3 separate regions of the Homo sapiens genome follow, and regions 1 and 3 are each linked to region 2. The links are contacts of gene promoters, found by promoter capture Hi-C in blood cells and fetal thymus (Javierre and others, 2016). All regions are on one chromosome and are shown on one strand. The core of a region is centred on a gene start or on the middle of the fragment in contact, and the rest is flanking DNA. Distances in the headings are between cores, read along the strand shown.

The links. The method cuts DNA at HindIII sites, captures the fragments that hold promoters and counts their contacts. A CHiCAGO score of 5 or more calls a contact.
Region 1: a contact is called between a fragment that was not itself captured here and the fragment with the promoter of RNASEH2B in region 2, in 1 of 17 cell types (activated CD4 T cells). The highest score is 6.0, in activated CD4 T cells.
Region 3: a fragment that was not itself captured here is called in contact with the fragment with the promoter of RNASEH2B in region 2 in 1 of 17 cell types (fetal thymus); the score reaches 5.2 in fetal thymus.

Annotation. Positions count from the first base shown.
Region 1 is chr13:50,367,518-50,372,059 of GRCh38, forward strand. The region is part of intron 2 of DLEU1 (deleted in lymphocytic leukemia 1); the gene reads left to right. Among named protein-coding and RNA genes, the nearest start is that of DLEU1-AS1, 160 kb to the right of the region's middle. The HindIII fragment of the contact is 1,512 bases long and covers 1,869-3,380 here.
Region 2 is chr13:50,908,089-50,912,782 of GRCh38, forward strand. RNASEH2B (ribonuclease H2 subunit B) reads left to right here and starts at 1,703. Exons shown (of 11, transcript NM_024570.4): 1 at 1,703-2,052. The coding sequence starts at 1,989. RNASEH2B-AS1 (RNASEH2B antisense RNA 1) reads right to left here and starts at 2,624. Exons shown (of 3, transcript NR_046552.1): 1 at 2,395-2,624. RefSeq lists silencers at 1,518-1,947, 1,958-2,197, 2,408-2,457. The HindIII fragment of the contact is 8,311 bases long and covers 1-4,694 here.
Region 3 is chr13:50,263,947-50,268,608 of GRCh38, forward strand. The region is part of intron 2 of DLEU1 (deleted in lymphocytic leukemia 1); the gene reads left to right. Among named protein-coding and RNA genes, the nearest start is that of DLEU2, 140 kb to the left of the region's middle. The HindIII fragment of the contact is 9,440 bases long and covers 1-4,662 here.

The sequences.
Region 1 (4,542 bases), core at 1,375-3,874, 540 kb before region 2:
GCTATAACAAAATACCATAAACTAGATGGCTTATAAACAACAGATATTTATTTTTCATAGTTCTGGAGGCTGGGAAGTCTGAGATCAAGATACCAGCAGATTCAGTGTCTAGTGAGGGCCCATTTCCTGGTCCACTGATGGTGCCTTCTGACTGTGTCCTCACATAGGGGAAGGGGCAAACTAGCTCTACGGGGTCTCTTTTATAAAGGTTCTAATCCCATTCATGAGGGCTCCTCCCTCATGGCTTCTCAAAAGTCACCACCTCCTAATACCATCAACTTGGAGGTTAGGATTTCAACATATGAGTTTTGAGGGGACACAAACATTCAGACCAGAGTAGCCCCTAACCCAATATGACTGGTGTCTTTATAAGAAGGTGGCTTTGTGAAGACAGAGACACATGAGGAGAATGCCACGTGACAACTAAGGCAGAGACTGGCATTAATGCAGTTACAAGCCAAAGAATGCCAGAAATTGCCAGTGAATCACCAGTAGCTAGGAGAGCAGCAAGGAAGGACACTCACCCGCAGGTTTAGGGGGGAACATGTCCCTGCTGACACCTCAATTTTACACCTCTAGCCTCCAGAATTGTGAGAGAATATGATTCTGTTTTAAGCTGCTCAATGTATGGTGCTTTGTTATGGTAGCCCTAGGAAAGGAATACAGTCAGGAACACTCTTGTCCATAGGCAACATGGGATGTAGCAATGTATGGCCAAATCTTTCTCCTCCCACCATACAGAACACATTCATTCAAAGAGTATAAATTGGCCCAAGCTTAATAGACATTCTCTTTTTTACTAGTGGGTCAACACAAGTATAGGCCAGGTTAGTTCTATAGATAAAACAGAATTTGAAATGTGTAATGTTAAAGCCAAAGGTCCAATGGCTATTTATTCCACATTCTATATAACTACCCTAACTCAAGCAGCCGCTCTAAAACCCCAGTGACTAGGACCCTGAAAAAGTGTTCTTTAAAGTGTCAGAACAGAGATTCAGACTCTCAGAATTTGCTGTTTCAGTTTGAGAAGATGAAGAGTTTGAAGATGAGAAGACTCAAATTTGAGTCCAGCACCCAGCTGCCAGTCTAGCAGCCCATTGTAGCCCCCAGAGAATGAAAATGGAATGCTTGGTCCAATCCCCATGGTGGGTGTCCTCCAGGAAGCTCTGGGGTTCCCAACTGGCCTCCAGCCATACCAGGGCCATATAGATTCCTTAAAATAAATATCTATTTGTGTGTTGCCTTTTGGTGGCTCTGATCATCTATAGCATCAAGTCTAAGCATGATGCTTGAATAAGCCTCCATGATTTATGCCCCCTCTGGGCTCTGGGCTCCTGTTGCATCACACTGTCCCTTTAGCTTTATATCTAGTTACACAAAATTACTTGTTGTTTCCACAATAAAGCCTTATGTGTCTTGTCTTTGTGACCTTAACTATCACTTAAATTGACAATGCCCTTTCCTTCTTTTCCTACTGAAACAACCCTAGTTAATCTTCAAAATATTCATAAGGGACACTTTCCTATGAAAGCCTTCTTTGACAACATCCTCCAGATAGACTTAATACCTTTTTTCTTTGTATAATTTTTTACCTGCTCCTTTACTGTGCATCTCAAACTATATTTAATAATTTGTTTATAATCATCTTTTAATTAAACTGTGAGATCCTTGAGGGCAGGAATTGTATTTTATTTATATAGGATGCCCAGTAGTAAGCATAGTGCCTATACCTGTACAGGTGATTAGTAACTGTTTAAATGAATTCTTCATTTAACAAATATTTCTTGAGACTTTTTATGTTGCAGGCATTGTTCTGGGCCTTGTAGATGTGGCAGTAGTCAAGAAAAACAAAGACCTTTCCTACCTGAAGCTTGTGTTCCGGTAGAGAAAATGGATAAACAGATAAAAATAATAGACATTGCATATACTTTCAAGTAATGATATGTGCTACGAAGAAGAAAAAAGGCAGTGTAGGAGGTTGTGGGTCGATGGGATTTCTCTTAGATTCACAAATCAAGAGGTGATCAAATGAAACTTAACCAAAAAAGACAATGACTTCTCTCTAACCAAACTTGATTACTGATAGTCTTTTTCCAAGTCAGCTTAATGTGCTGTTCAAGAGAATCAGTGTGGAAGGAAGGAAATGTGCAAGAGAGTCCTGTATCAGACACAGTGGGCAGGGAGCTTTACATCTCTCATCTTATTGGGCTTTGACAACACCCTTCAAGATAGGTGCTGTTGCAGATGAATGACAACCTGAACTTCAGGGAGGCCAAATAATGTGTCCATGTGGAGTGTCTGAGTGTGTAAGCCAAGGTTCAAACCCCGGCCATCCTGGGCCACTTGTCAACACCAGTTCTACAGTTGAATTCTATGAATACTTATCAGGTGCTGACTTCATGTCAAGCCCTGTTCTTCATGCTTAGCATACACCAGCAAATAGAATAGACAGAAATCCCTGCCATTTCAGAAAGTAACAAGTGTTGACAAGGATGTGGAGAAATTGAAACGCTTGTGCACTGTTGGTGGGAATGTAAAATGGCACAGGTACTATGGGAAACAGTATGGTAGATCCTCAGAAAATTAAAAATATAATTACCATATGATCCAATGATTCCATTTCTGGAAATATACCCAAAGGAATGGAAAGCAGGATCTTGAAGAGATATTTGTAGACTCATGTTCATAGCAGCATTAACCAAAAGGTAGAAGCAATGCAAGTACCCGTCAACAGGTGAATAGATAAATAAGATGTAGCCTATATGCATTTACCACACATGGAATATTATTAAGTCTTCAGAAGGAAGGAAATTATGACATATGCTATAACATGGCTGAACCTTGATGACATTATGTTAAGTGAAATAACCCAGTTACAAAAAGACAAATATATGGTTCTGCTTATATGAGGTACCTAGACCAGTCAAATTCATAGAGAAAGTAGAAGAGTGGTTGCCAGGGGCTGGCAAAAAGGGGAAGTGGGGAGTTAGTGTTTACCGGGTACAGAGCTTCAGTTTGAGAAGATGAAGAGTTCTGGAGACGTATAGTGGTGATGGTTGCACAACAGTGTGAATGTACTCAATGCCACTGAATTGTACACTTAAAAATGGTTAAAATAGTAAATTTCATATTATGTGTATTTCACCACAATTTAAAAAATCTCTGCCCTTGTGGAGCTCATGTTTTAGTTCAGGGACATGAACAGTGAACAGATTAAATATGTAAATCATAAGCTATTAGAAGGAGATGAGTGATATAGAAACAGAACAGATTGAAGAAGATTGGGAGGGCTGCGAGCAAGGAGAGTGTGTTTTCAGTTTTAAACGGGGTGGTTAGTTTCATGGTCTTCTTCAGCTAGAGTTAAAATAAGTCGTCAATAAAGCTTGTCAGCCATGAAACTGGGGTATCTTCCTTGGCATCCATGCTTTGCCCAGAACACTCTGACTTGTTGGAATCTTGAGTGGAAATTTAAAGTCTCTCAGAAATAACTTTCAAGTTTCAGTGTAGGAAGTCCAGAGCACACAGAGGGGAGGAGGGACTGTCACTGGGCAGCATCCAGAGGGACTTCATTTTCAGTGTGTGAGGGAGACAGCCAGGCGGGGCGTGCACATTCAGGGAATAATAAACAGTAAGAGGGAGAGGGCAGAAGACAGGTGGAGTGTGTTGGAGGTGGGTACACTAAGGCAAGGCAGGAGGCTCTAAAATTTGTAGGCTGGATGATGGGAAGTAAGTGCAGTGTTTAAATTTTTATTGTAAATTAGTTATTTACTCCATCCATTGATTCCTCTAGCCAGTGTTGGAGGGACCAGCTTGGCACGTGCTTCTGGGCTCCTTCCTGGGGATTGGGTGCAAGAATGGCTGCCCTCAGAGAATGAATCACAATCTGGTAGGAAAGTAAAAACATATGCACATTGGGAATATTTAAATAGCAAGGCTGTGTAGTTTATACCAAGATGAGTGATCCAGACAATAGATGCTGTAGACAAGGAAGACAGTCAAAATATCTGTCAAAATTTCTAACAGCCAGTACTGCACAGGCATCAGACTGGATTGCGATGGATGCCAATCCCATCAGAACACACTGTGGGAGTGGACAATCTGTACCCCATGAATATTAGCCCTGGTATGGCAGCATTGAAGAGCAAAGGTCTCTAGGGACTGGGGCCACTGCGCAACAGTTCAGGGAGGAGATAGAACTCAGACTGAGCCTGGAGAGGTGGGGAGGGAGAGAGAAGCGGGAATAATTAAATTAGTTTCATGATGTAAGTAGGATTCTTAGAAGATTATTCTGACAGATATGTGTGGCATGGAGTAGAGTGGGAGGAATGAAGGAAGAAAATTGGTGAGGAGGCTGTTCTAGGAATTGAGGTGTGAGATGAGAAGAATGGAGGACTCCCTATTGGAGAGAAAGGCTTGACCCGTGAGCCAGGGAGAGCTGAGCGGCGAAGAGTAACTTGGAATTATTCCGCCAAGAGCCAAAGTATTTATTTCTTACCACGAATTGTTAAAATGTGACTATGAAGAGTAGTAAAAGCATAATAA
Region 2 (4,694 bases), core at 453-2,952:
CAGCTTCGTCCTGCAAAGGACCTGAATTCTACCTTTGTCCAGCGGATCCACACTGCAGAAGGTCCCCTCCTTATGAGTCACTTAGTAGCTGCAAGAGTAGTGATGCTGGCATACTGTGAGAATTGTTCTATTTTATTATTATTGTTGTTCATCTCTTACTGGGCCTAATTTTCAAATTAAACTTTATCACAGATATACATGCAAAGGAAAAAACAGTATATTAGGGTTTGGTACTATTTGCGGTTTTAGGCCTTCACTGGGGGTTTTGGATCCCATCCTACAGGAATAATGGGGTGCTCCTGTAGCTGTTAGTAAGACGATGGTGTGCCTGGGGATTTGTGCTATACACCACAGCATCTTCTACAGTCGTTTTGGGGGAGAGGGAAGATCAGAGCAGTACCAATCTGCTGCTCCTTGCCCCAAAACTGGCAAGAGGCGCCTTTCCTCAGCCAGAAAGGCCTCTTCTCCACCAGCTGTGTCCTGCAATCAACTGCAGCTGTATTGGTCTCACCCCATGGGAAACAGGTTTGAAGTTAAAAACCTTTTCAGAGGGCCGAGATAAATTTAGTGCTGCTAAATTTAACTATCTTCAAGATTAAACATGAAAAGCAAAGTGCATGAGTTATGTATATTATTCTTTCAATTGTGCAAAAATAAGACATTAACTTGTTTTTGCATGGAAAAATTCTGCAAGAATAGAGAAGAAATGTTAACAGTTACCCCTGGGATCTGGGATAAAAGAGATACATCATGCTTTTCTTTAAAAAAAAAAAAAATAGGTTTTTGTGGATTTTTTTGTTTTTGTTTTTTTTGACAGAGTCCAGCTCTGTAGCCCAGGCCAGAGTGCAGTGGTGGGATCTCGGTTCACTGCAACCTCCATCTCCTGGGTTCAAGTGATTCTTGTGCCTCAGCCTCCGTAGTAGCTGGGATTACAGATGTGCACCACCACACCCAGCTAATTTTTGTATTTTCAGTAGAGACGGAGTTTCACCTTGTTGGTCAGGCTGGTCTCCAGCTCCTGACCTCAGGCGATCCGCCCGCCTCGGCCTCCCAAAGTGCTGGGATTACAGGCCTGAGCCACTGCGCCTGGCCCGTGCTTTTCTCTAAAGTATGAAAGGAATATGTACTTTCTTCTTAAAAACCATGTACCAAACAACACTTTTCAATTAAAATGTTATTTTTAAAAGTTTAAATCCCCAAATTTCATGGCTCTAACTTTTTAAACATCACTTTTTAAATAAATGTCTAAGTTTTTAACTCAGTATACAGCGTTCTCCAAAACAACAAATTCATATTCTGAGCCCAAAACTGTGCACCTCTTTTAGTGATGAGGACGGAGTCCAAATTGAGGACATCCCTTGTAGCTCACAATGCACACATATTCTCACATCAATAGCAACACAGAATGCAACTGATGACCAATATATATTCACAAATAATTGAGGACCATGGCTAAGAGTTGCATTCGGATTCCGATGTGACTGCTATTGTCCTTAACACGGACTAGCTCCAGGTGAGTCCCCCGGCCCCGGGGGTGTGGCGGGCGTCACCCGTTGTCCGGGCACACACCCCGCAGACCCAATCCTAGCCCGCTGGCTAGACCATGGAGGGCCGCTGGGTGCAGCCACAGAGCGCGGGGCCCCGGCGACCCCGCCCCGCTCCGCGTCACTCGGCGCCCTGCGGCGCGCGATGAGCACCTACCACTAGCGGAGCCGCGAGGGAGAGGCCGCGGCCCCTTCCCGTTGCCTGCGGCCACCGGCCGGCATTCAGAGCCCCTCGCCTGGCGCTAAATTTAAAAACGTAACACGAGCAGCAGGCTGGTCTCGGAAACGAAACGAAATTCGGTCCCTGGGCCTCCTCCCGGGCGCTGCCGGTCCCTCAGCGCGCCGCGCCACCCGGAACAGACCCTTCTCCCGCCATTTTCGGCGGGGCTGGGAGACTGAGGCCCGCGGCGCTGAGCCTGCGGCGCCCCGGAAGAGGCGGGCGGCATGGCCGCTGGCGTGGACTGCGGGGACGGGGTTGGCGCCCGGCAGCACGTGTTCCTGGTTTCAGGTAAACACGCGCGCCCGGGCGGCGGGGTCGGCCCAAGAACTGGCGGAGCGGCCCGCGACCCCGGGCGCGCCGCCCCCCACCCCGGTGGCTCCCACTACCCGGCCCGGCGCGGGATGGGATTCTCTCTGGGACAGCTGGCCCCGCATTTTGGTCACACGTCATAGCAAGCCGCGGTTTTCAAACCCGGAAGCGCCGAAAAGGACCGAGCGTGTTTCCCGGGCCCTGATCCCCGGTGGCTCGGGTGGGAGGGTGGAAGCCGACTCAGCCTGAGGGGAGCCACGCGGGTTCGCGGTCACCGGTGCGCTGCGGGCCCCGGAGGTTTCTGCCCTTGGTGTCCCCTACCTGGCAGCTGGCCCTGCTTCTGTGATCCTACTGGGTTGGAACCAGGGATCCAGTAGGCTCGAAGTGGCCTCAGACGGTGCGCAGTTTTAAGAAAGCAAAGGGACAGGCCTGCAGTGGCGAGGCAGGAGGGAAGCGGGATGGGAGTCGCGGTTAGGCCAAGGGTAGTTCAAAGCGATTCAGCAGGATGATGACCACAGGAGTGCTGGAGCCGGGCCTTTCAGCCCCCGTGTGGATGATGACCGGCCATCCAGGACATGCGAGGGCTTGGGACAGTGGACAGCCAGTGCCACACAAGGAAGGACCGATTAAATGACACAGTTAAAGGAATTTGGCCTAGGGAGTGCAAGCCAGAAAGGTTTGGTCTTTTTATATATGTAACATTGGAAAAAAGGAACATCTCCTGTTCCCTGTATTAAGTTTTGACTTTAGCTCAGCAAATGCAGTGTTTGTGGCAGTAAATATACTCTGATAACAATATTCTTTCCCAGGAATTTAGAGTTTTATGATGGTTATTGAAAATGTTTACATGACAGGCTGTCAATAATATTTTTTGCCTCTAAAAATAAAACATACATAAAGTGTACGGATTTTAAGTATGCAACTCACTGAACTTTTCATACGTATACACCACCCTAGTAACCATCCCCCAGTTCAAGATGTAGACTGTTTCCAATAACGCCTCATGCCTGTTCCTAGATAGCCCCAGGAACCTCTATGCTGACCTCTGTCACCAGAGATTAGTTTTGCCTGTTTGAATAAGAGTGTACCCTTTGTGTCTGGCTTCTTTCACTCTGAAAGATTCATCCTTGTTGTGAAATTCATTCATGTTGTAGCAGTTGTTTGGTTGGTTGGTTAGTTTTTTCATTGCTGCTTCTGTTTAATTGTATGAGTATCCATACTATGTATCTCTACTGTGGATGGACATTTGGGTTGTTTCCAGTTTGCAACTATTACAAGTTACACTTCTCAGAGCATTCCTTTAGGCGGCTTTTGGTAGACATGGGCACTCATATCTCTAGGGTGTATACCCTGGAGTGGAATGGCTGGTTCTAGTACTTGTGTGTAGAGCTGTAGTTGACAATGTTAAATGGTTTTCCAAAGTGGTTATACTGATTTATATTCCCACAAGCAGTGTATGAGAGTTCCCATTGCTGCACATCCTCGGTAAAAACGTTTGGGTGGTAAAACAGCTAATGCAAAATTCAGGGTTTTGACAGAATCTCGCAAAGGGCTACCCGTATACATGCTTTTCATTAGAAAAATCATCCTTTCTTCTCACTTCGTCACATCAAGACAATTAGATTTTCAGAGTAGGAACTCTAATCATTCTTTCAGAATCAAGTGCATTATTGTTATTTCAGATATACACAATAGCTGATGATAATTTGAGCTTCTTATTTTGTTGTTCTGTTTAATCAGTATTGACATCGTCATTTTATACGTGTGTTTGTGTCCTTGTATTAAACACAAAACCCTCAAAAGAATTAAATATTGATTGTATCCCTGAAAATTGTAGGTTTTAATATATCTACTGCTGGGTTGTGGGAAGAGTTTCAGTTGAGTTTCTGTTCAGAGCTGAGATCTACTGTGACCTTTTAAGGCATTGGGGGAGGCTGAGCAGCTGTTGGAACTGCTAGAAAGAGCTGTGTGGTCAGGGGGGCAGGAACTCTTAACAGTTAAAAACTTGAGCTACCAGCTCCTGCAATTCTTCCTTCTGGCCTTTAGCGCCACCTGCAGGCTCTGAGGGTACAACAAGGTTTGACAGCGACTGCAGTGCAACACTAGTTCTCAAACTTGAGGGCATCATTTACCTGGGGAGCTGGGCCTCAGTTCCCAGAGGTGCTGGTTCAGTAGGTCCTGGGCTGGGGCCAGAGAATGTGCATTGGTAACAAGTTCCCAAGAGATACTGATGCTGCTGGTCCGGAAACCACTGCCCCCACCCCAGGAACCACTGCAGTAAAGACTTTGGGAACTAGATTGGGATATAAGAATGACAAGCCTCATGTTTGGCCCTCTTTGTGGTGGGCCAGAATTTATATGGTCAAGGAAGTGCATGTAAGTGCAGAGTGTGAGGCTCATCTTCCCAGATGTAGTTGTCGTCTTTTCCAGAAGATGAGAAATCAGCCTGCTTAGTTACCCATTCGGGAGTTGGAAACGATATGCCCTTGGCTGAGGGAGCACCATACTCCAGTAAAGCTGGGCCCTTAATAAAGAAAACAAAGATTATTAAACATTTTTCAAAAGTATTTGGCGGAGGCGGCTTGTATTCGGTTTTAGAAAACTTGGGATCTGAAGAACTT
Region 3 (4,662 bases), core at 966-3,465, 640 kb before region 2:
GAAAATATACATTACTTTAAAAATGATCTTTAAGTACAACAATGTGGGTGAATCTTAGCAATATAATATTAAGCTAAAAGACGTTCCAAAAGAACACACACAAAACGCTATACTTTTATATGTCATACGTTGTTTTATATGTCAAAACCAACCAAAATGAAAATACTATTTTATTTATTTATTTATTTATTTCGAGATGGAGTTTCGCTCTTGTTGCCCAGGCTGGAGTGCAATAGTACCATTTTGGCTCACTGCAACCTCTGCCTCCTGGGTTCAAGCGATTCTCCTGCCTCAGCCTCCGGAGTAACTGGGATTACAGGCATGCACCACCACACCTGGCTAATTTTTGTATTTTTTTTTTTTTGTAGAGACGGGGTTTCACCATGTTGGCCAGGCTGGTTGTGAACTCCTGACCTCAGGTGATCCGCCCACCTTGGCCTCCCAAAGTGCTGGGATTACAGGCGTGAGCCACCGCGCCTGGCTGAAAATATTATTATTTTTTGAATAAATATAAATGCAATAAAACTTACATCACAAAAAGCAAGGGAGTACTGAACATAGGATTTAGAATGACTGTTATTTCACATGGGTAGAGCCAAGTGAATGGAATCGAGGAACCATATAATTAGGCAGAGGTTATTGTTAAGAATCTAGTTTTTGTTTTATGAGTTCTTGTAATATTAAAATAGAAGATAGATAAATAGATACAGTCCATATTTTATAAACATATTGTCTCCTTATTCGAGTCGACTGTCTTGTGGGTTATAGCAGTTTTTGCAAGTAGATTCTGTCACTAAAATGTGCTGGTGTCACCAGGGCCAGCACCACCCAATGATATCTCTGTGTCCTCCTTCCCCTGGGAAGAGGAATGTGAGATGGGGTACGGCCCAGGCATGTGGCATCCCAGCCTGCAACTGTGCTGCTGATTGGGTGTCCATCTGATCGGCTAAAGCCCTGCCTTGGTTGTTCAGTGTTTTCAGCATTTTTCCCAGCATGGGCAAAGCCACCAAGCTCATTCATTACCAGGCCAATCAGCCGTATCCACATGTAGCAGCACACCCACCATCAACTTGTACTAAGGGCAATGATTGCAAAGAGGGGGAGAAAAGGAGATGATTGTAGGTGCATGGACATAGCACCTTTTCTGATGGTCAGTTCGATTTCAGTGTGAAGAATTTATTTATTTATTTATTTATTTATTTATTTATTTTTGAGACGGAGTCTCACTCTGTCGCCCAGGCTGGAGTGCAGTGGCGTGATCTCGGCTCACTGCAAGCTCCACCTCCCGGGTTCACGCCATTCTCCTGCCTCAGCCTCCAGAGTAGCTGGGACTACAGGCGCCCGCCACCATGCCCAGCTAATTTTTTGTGTTTTTAGTAGAGATGGGGTTTCACCACATTAGCCAGGATGGTCTCGATTTCCTGACCTCGAGATCTGCCTGCCTTGGCCTCCCAAAGTGCTGGGATTTTAAGTCAGAAACTGCCTCGACGTTTTGTGGTGCTCCTGACGTCTGCACAGCCCTACTTGCACAGTCTTTCCTGATGTCATCACGTCTTGCCTCTGCTACTCATTTGAGACACATACCTTAGATGAAAAGGATTTCTGAAGAGAAGAAGTAGAAAGATGCCCTTTAATAAATCCTTCCAATTATAGAACCAGGTGTCTGGAATAGTCCTCAGAGAACTCCCCACTCCTCTCTTCACTACAGAGGCATAAGACGCAGGCCCTGAGGGATTGAATGTCTCGGCACCACCCAGCCGATCCTCCCACACCGGGAGGTCACCTGGCCTCTGACCCCCTGGCTCCCTTCCCAGCCCCCTTTCACTACACCATACTTGTGGCATGTTCTACCTGTAGAGAAATGTGGTTTATAACCTCCCCAGTTATCATTTATTTCATGGCTTTTACACTGCCTAATTTAAAAAAGAATTTAAAATATTTTACCAAGTTATGATACCCTAAAATATAGAATAAAATCTCAAAAGGGCAGAAACCACTTGGAGGTAAGAGCCTGGGCTGACTTGGTTTCTGTGGTGGAGCCTTGTGGGTGTCCCAGTCTCCAGGGAAGTGAAAGTTTGGGAGTATCTTCATCCATGTGTCAAAAAATAGTGAAAGCCTGCAGAAGCACAAATTCAGCAAAAGCTCACTTCACCTAACAGAAACACTACTGAAAAATCACTTAATGTCAAAACAAATCCTGTGTTGTATTGGATATATATCTAAGGTCTGCAGACTTGGAGAAGATAAGTCATGTTTGATTTTCTGAAACCTTTGCAGCTTGAGGGGCCAGGGTGCCGGGAGCACCTGACAGGGAAGTCCTTGTCATACATGCTAAGAATAAAGCCCCCTTCCTTTTAGAGGCTAGCCCTAGTGGAACCGGTTCCACTCCCTCCTTTCCTGTTTTATTGATTGATTGATTGTTTGATTGATTGATTTAGAGACACACCTCATTCTGTCACCCAGGATGGTGTGCAGTGGTGCGATCTCAGCTCACTGCAATTTCTGCCTCCTGGGTTCAAGTGATTCTCGTACCTCAGCCTCTTGAGTAGCTGGGATTAGGTGTGTGCCACCGCCCAGGTAATTTTTGTATTTCTAGTAGAGACGAGGTTTCACCATGTTGACCAGGCTGGTCTTGACTCTTGGCTTCAACTGATCCGCCTACCTCGGCCTCCCAAAGTGCTGGGATTACAGGCGTGAGCCACCGCGCCCGACCCCCTCCCCTGCCCTGTTGACACTTAACTGCAAACCTGGGAGAGAAAGGCAGAAAGGAAGGAAGTGTATGTCTGGAGTTAACTAGATAAAACTACAAGAGGTACTGGTAAGTGGTGGAAACAGGTGTTTGGTTATAAAGAGTGGTATCTGCTGTTGTGCTGGGTTTCACGTGATTTATGTTTTCTCTGGTGAGCCCCGCTAGTATGAAGACAGTAGGGCTTTGCTAGAACTGGTGTGTTCTCGGGGTAGTAATGGTCTCTTACTGGAGTCCCAGGAATCTCTGGGTCTCTTCCTTTTTTAATAACAAGAGCTATTCCAATAACCTTTTTGACCCTGTGATGTTCATAGATAGTATTAGCTTTTTGGTTTAATTCTTCAAGATAAAGTTTACACCCTAACAGGATCCTTTGGGGGTGTTATTCCAAAGGGGAGTGTGATGTGTGAATTTCAGGCTGTTTCAGGATAACGAAGAAAGCAGTTTGTGGAGAAGGGACTTTGAAGCCACAGCACACACTTCCCAGCTTCTTCCACTTTTGCAGAAAGCATTCTTGGGGGTGGGATGTGGATGGTGTGTGTTCTTACATAAGGTGGTCTTGTTACTGAGAGTGCAGGAAGTTCCTTTGTTTCTTGGTTTGTGGTCTTTAGTAACGATAACTTTAGGTGAATGGAACCTTTCTGTACATTTTCAGAAATCTCCAACGTTTGGATCATGCCAGGATGTTAACTTTTTACAGGCCGAAGCTGAACGGCCTGTTATGAGGGAGCCCCAAAATATGTAACATCATTACCTCTGTTAACACCAGTTTGTCAGCCTCTAGACCCACTGTTCACAGTGGCATCAATCCTGGAGAAGATCCACACCTTAGAATGGTTTTGTTTGGTTGCCCTGTTGGGACCTTCACTGAGTCTTACCCAGGGGTTCTTATAGTGTGTCTGAGGTGTGTTCCCCAACTGGCCCTGGGTGCAGAAATTATATTTGCAGCCAGATAACTTATAATTTGCTACATATGGCCAGTCTTTTTTAGCAGTTTTCTTTCTTTTGCATTTTGCCACACCCACTCCCAATTTACTGTTAGCAGCCCTCCTGGTACCTTCTCACCACAAGGGACTTATATTAGATATCTGTAGGCTCCGAGACAGAGAGAGAGAGATTGAGAGTGAGAGAGCCCAATCACATTGCTTGCCTCCTGTTTTATTTTAATATCATTATTTTTTACATTACTGTTCCTTGACCCTTGTACATTAAACATTAAATAGAAGTCAAGGTTATAGTCATGGGGCCAGAGAGAGGAATCTACCTTCCTTGATGACTCTAGGCTGGAACAGGATTGAAGGGAGCACAGGAGTGGCTAGGGCTACAGTCTGTGCTTCTACAGAGAAGCATGTGGAACAGAAGGTTGAGGTGAGAGGCCGAGTGGCACAGATGAAAGAGCATGTTATTTTGGAGTTGGACAGACCTTAACTGGAATGCTAACTTGGCCACTGGTCAGCTATGTGGTCTTGGGCAAATTACCTGGCACTTCCAAACTTCAGTGACCTTTGCCTTATCTGTAAACTGGACTTGCAAGATTGTTATGGTAATCAAGTGGAATAATAGGTAGTAAGTACTTATTGTCCCATATAAGGCATTTCATAAATATTATTTTCTCTTTCTTTTCATTACGAGGGAATGAGAAAAAAAGCCAAAGACATGAAAATCCCCATGTTCTATTAATAACAGCTTCCATTTTTCTTTCTCATATTTTTATAATGCTTTAAACTATGTGGGTAATTGTTTCAGCATTTAATCTTTCCACTGAATTACTTAATTACATTTATGACAACCACATTTTAATTTTGAGTACATCGATGGAACTATTAATTTATTCTAATGAATTTACAACATGGCTGGAATTTTTTTCACCATTAATTTTGTGGTGATAGAAAACTATGCTGCCTGCCATAGATTTA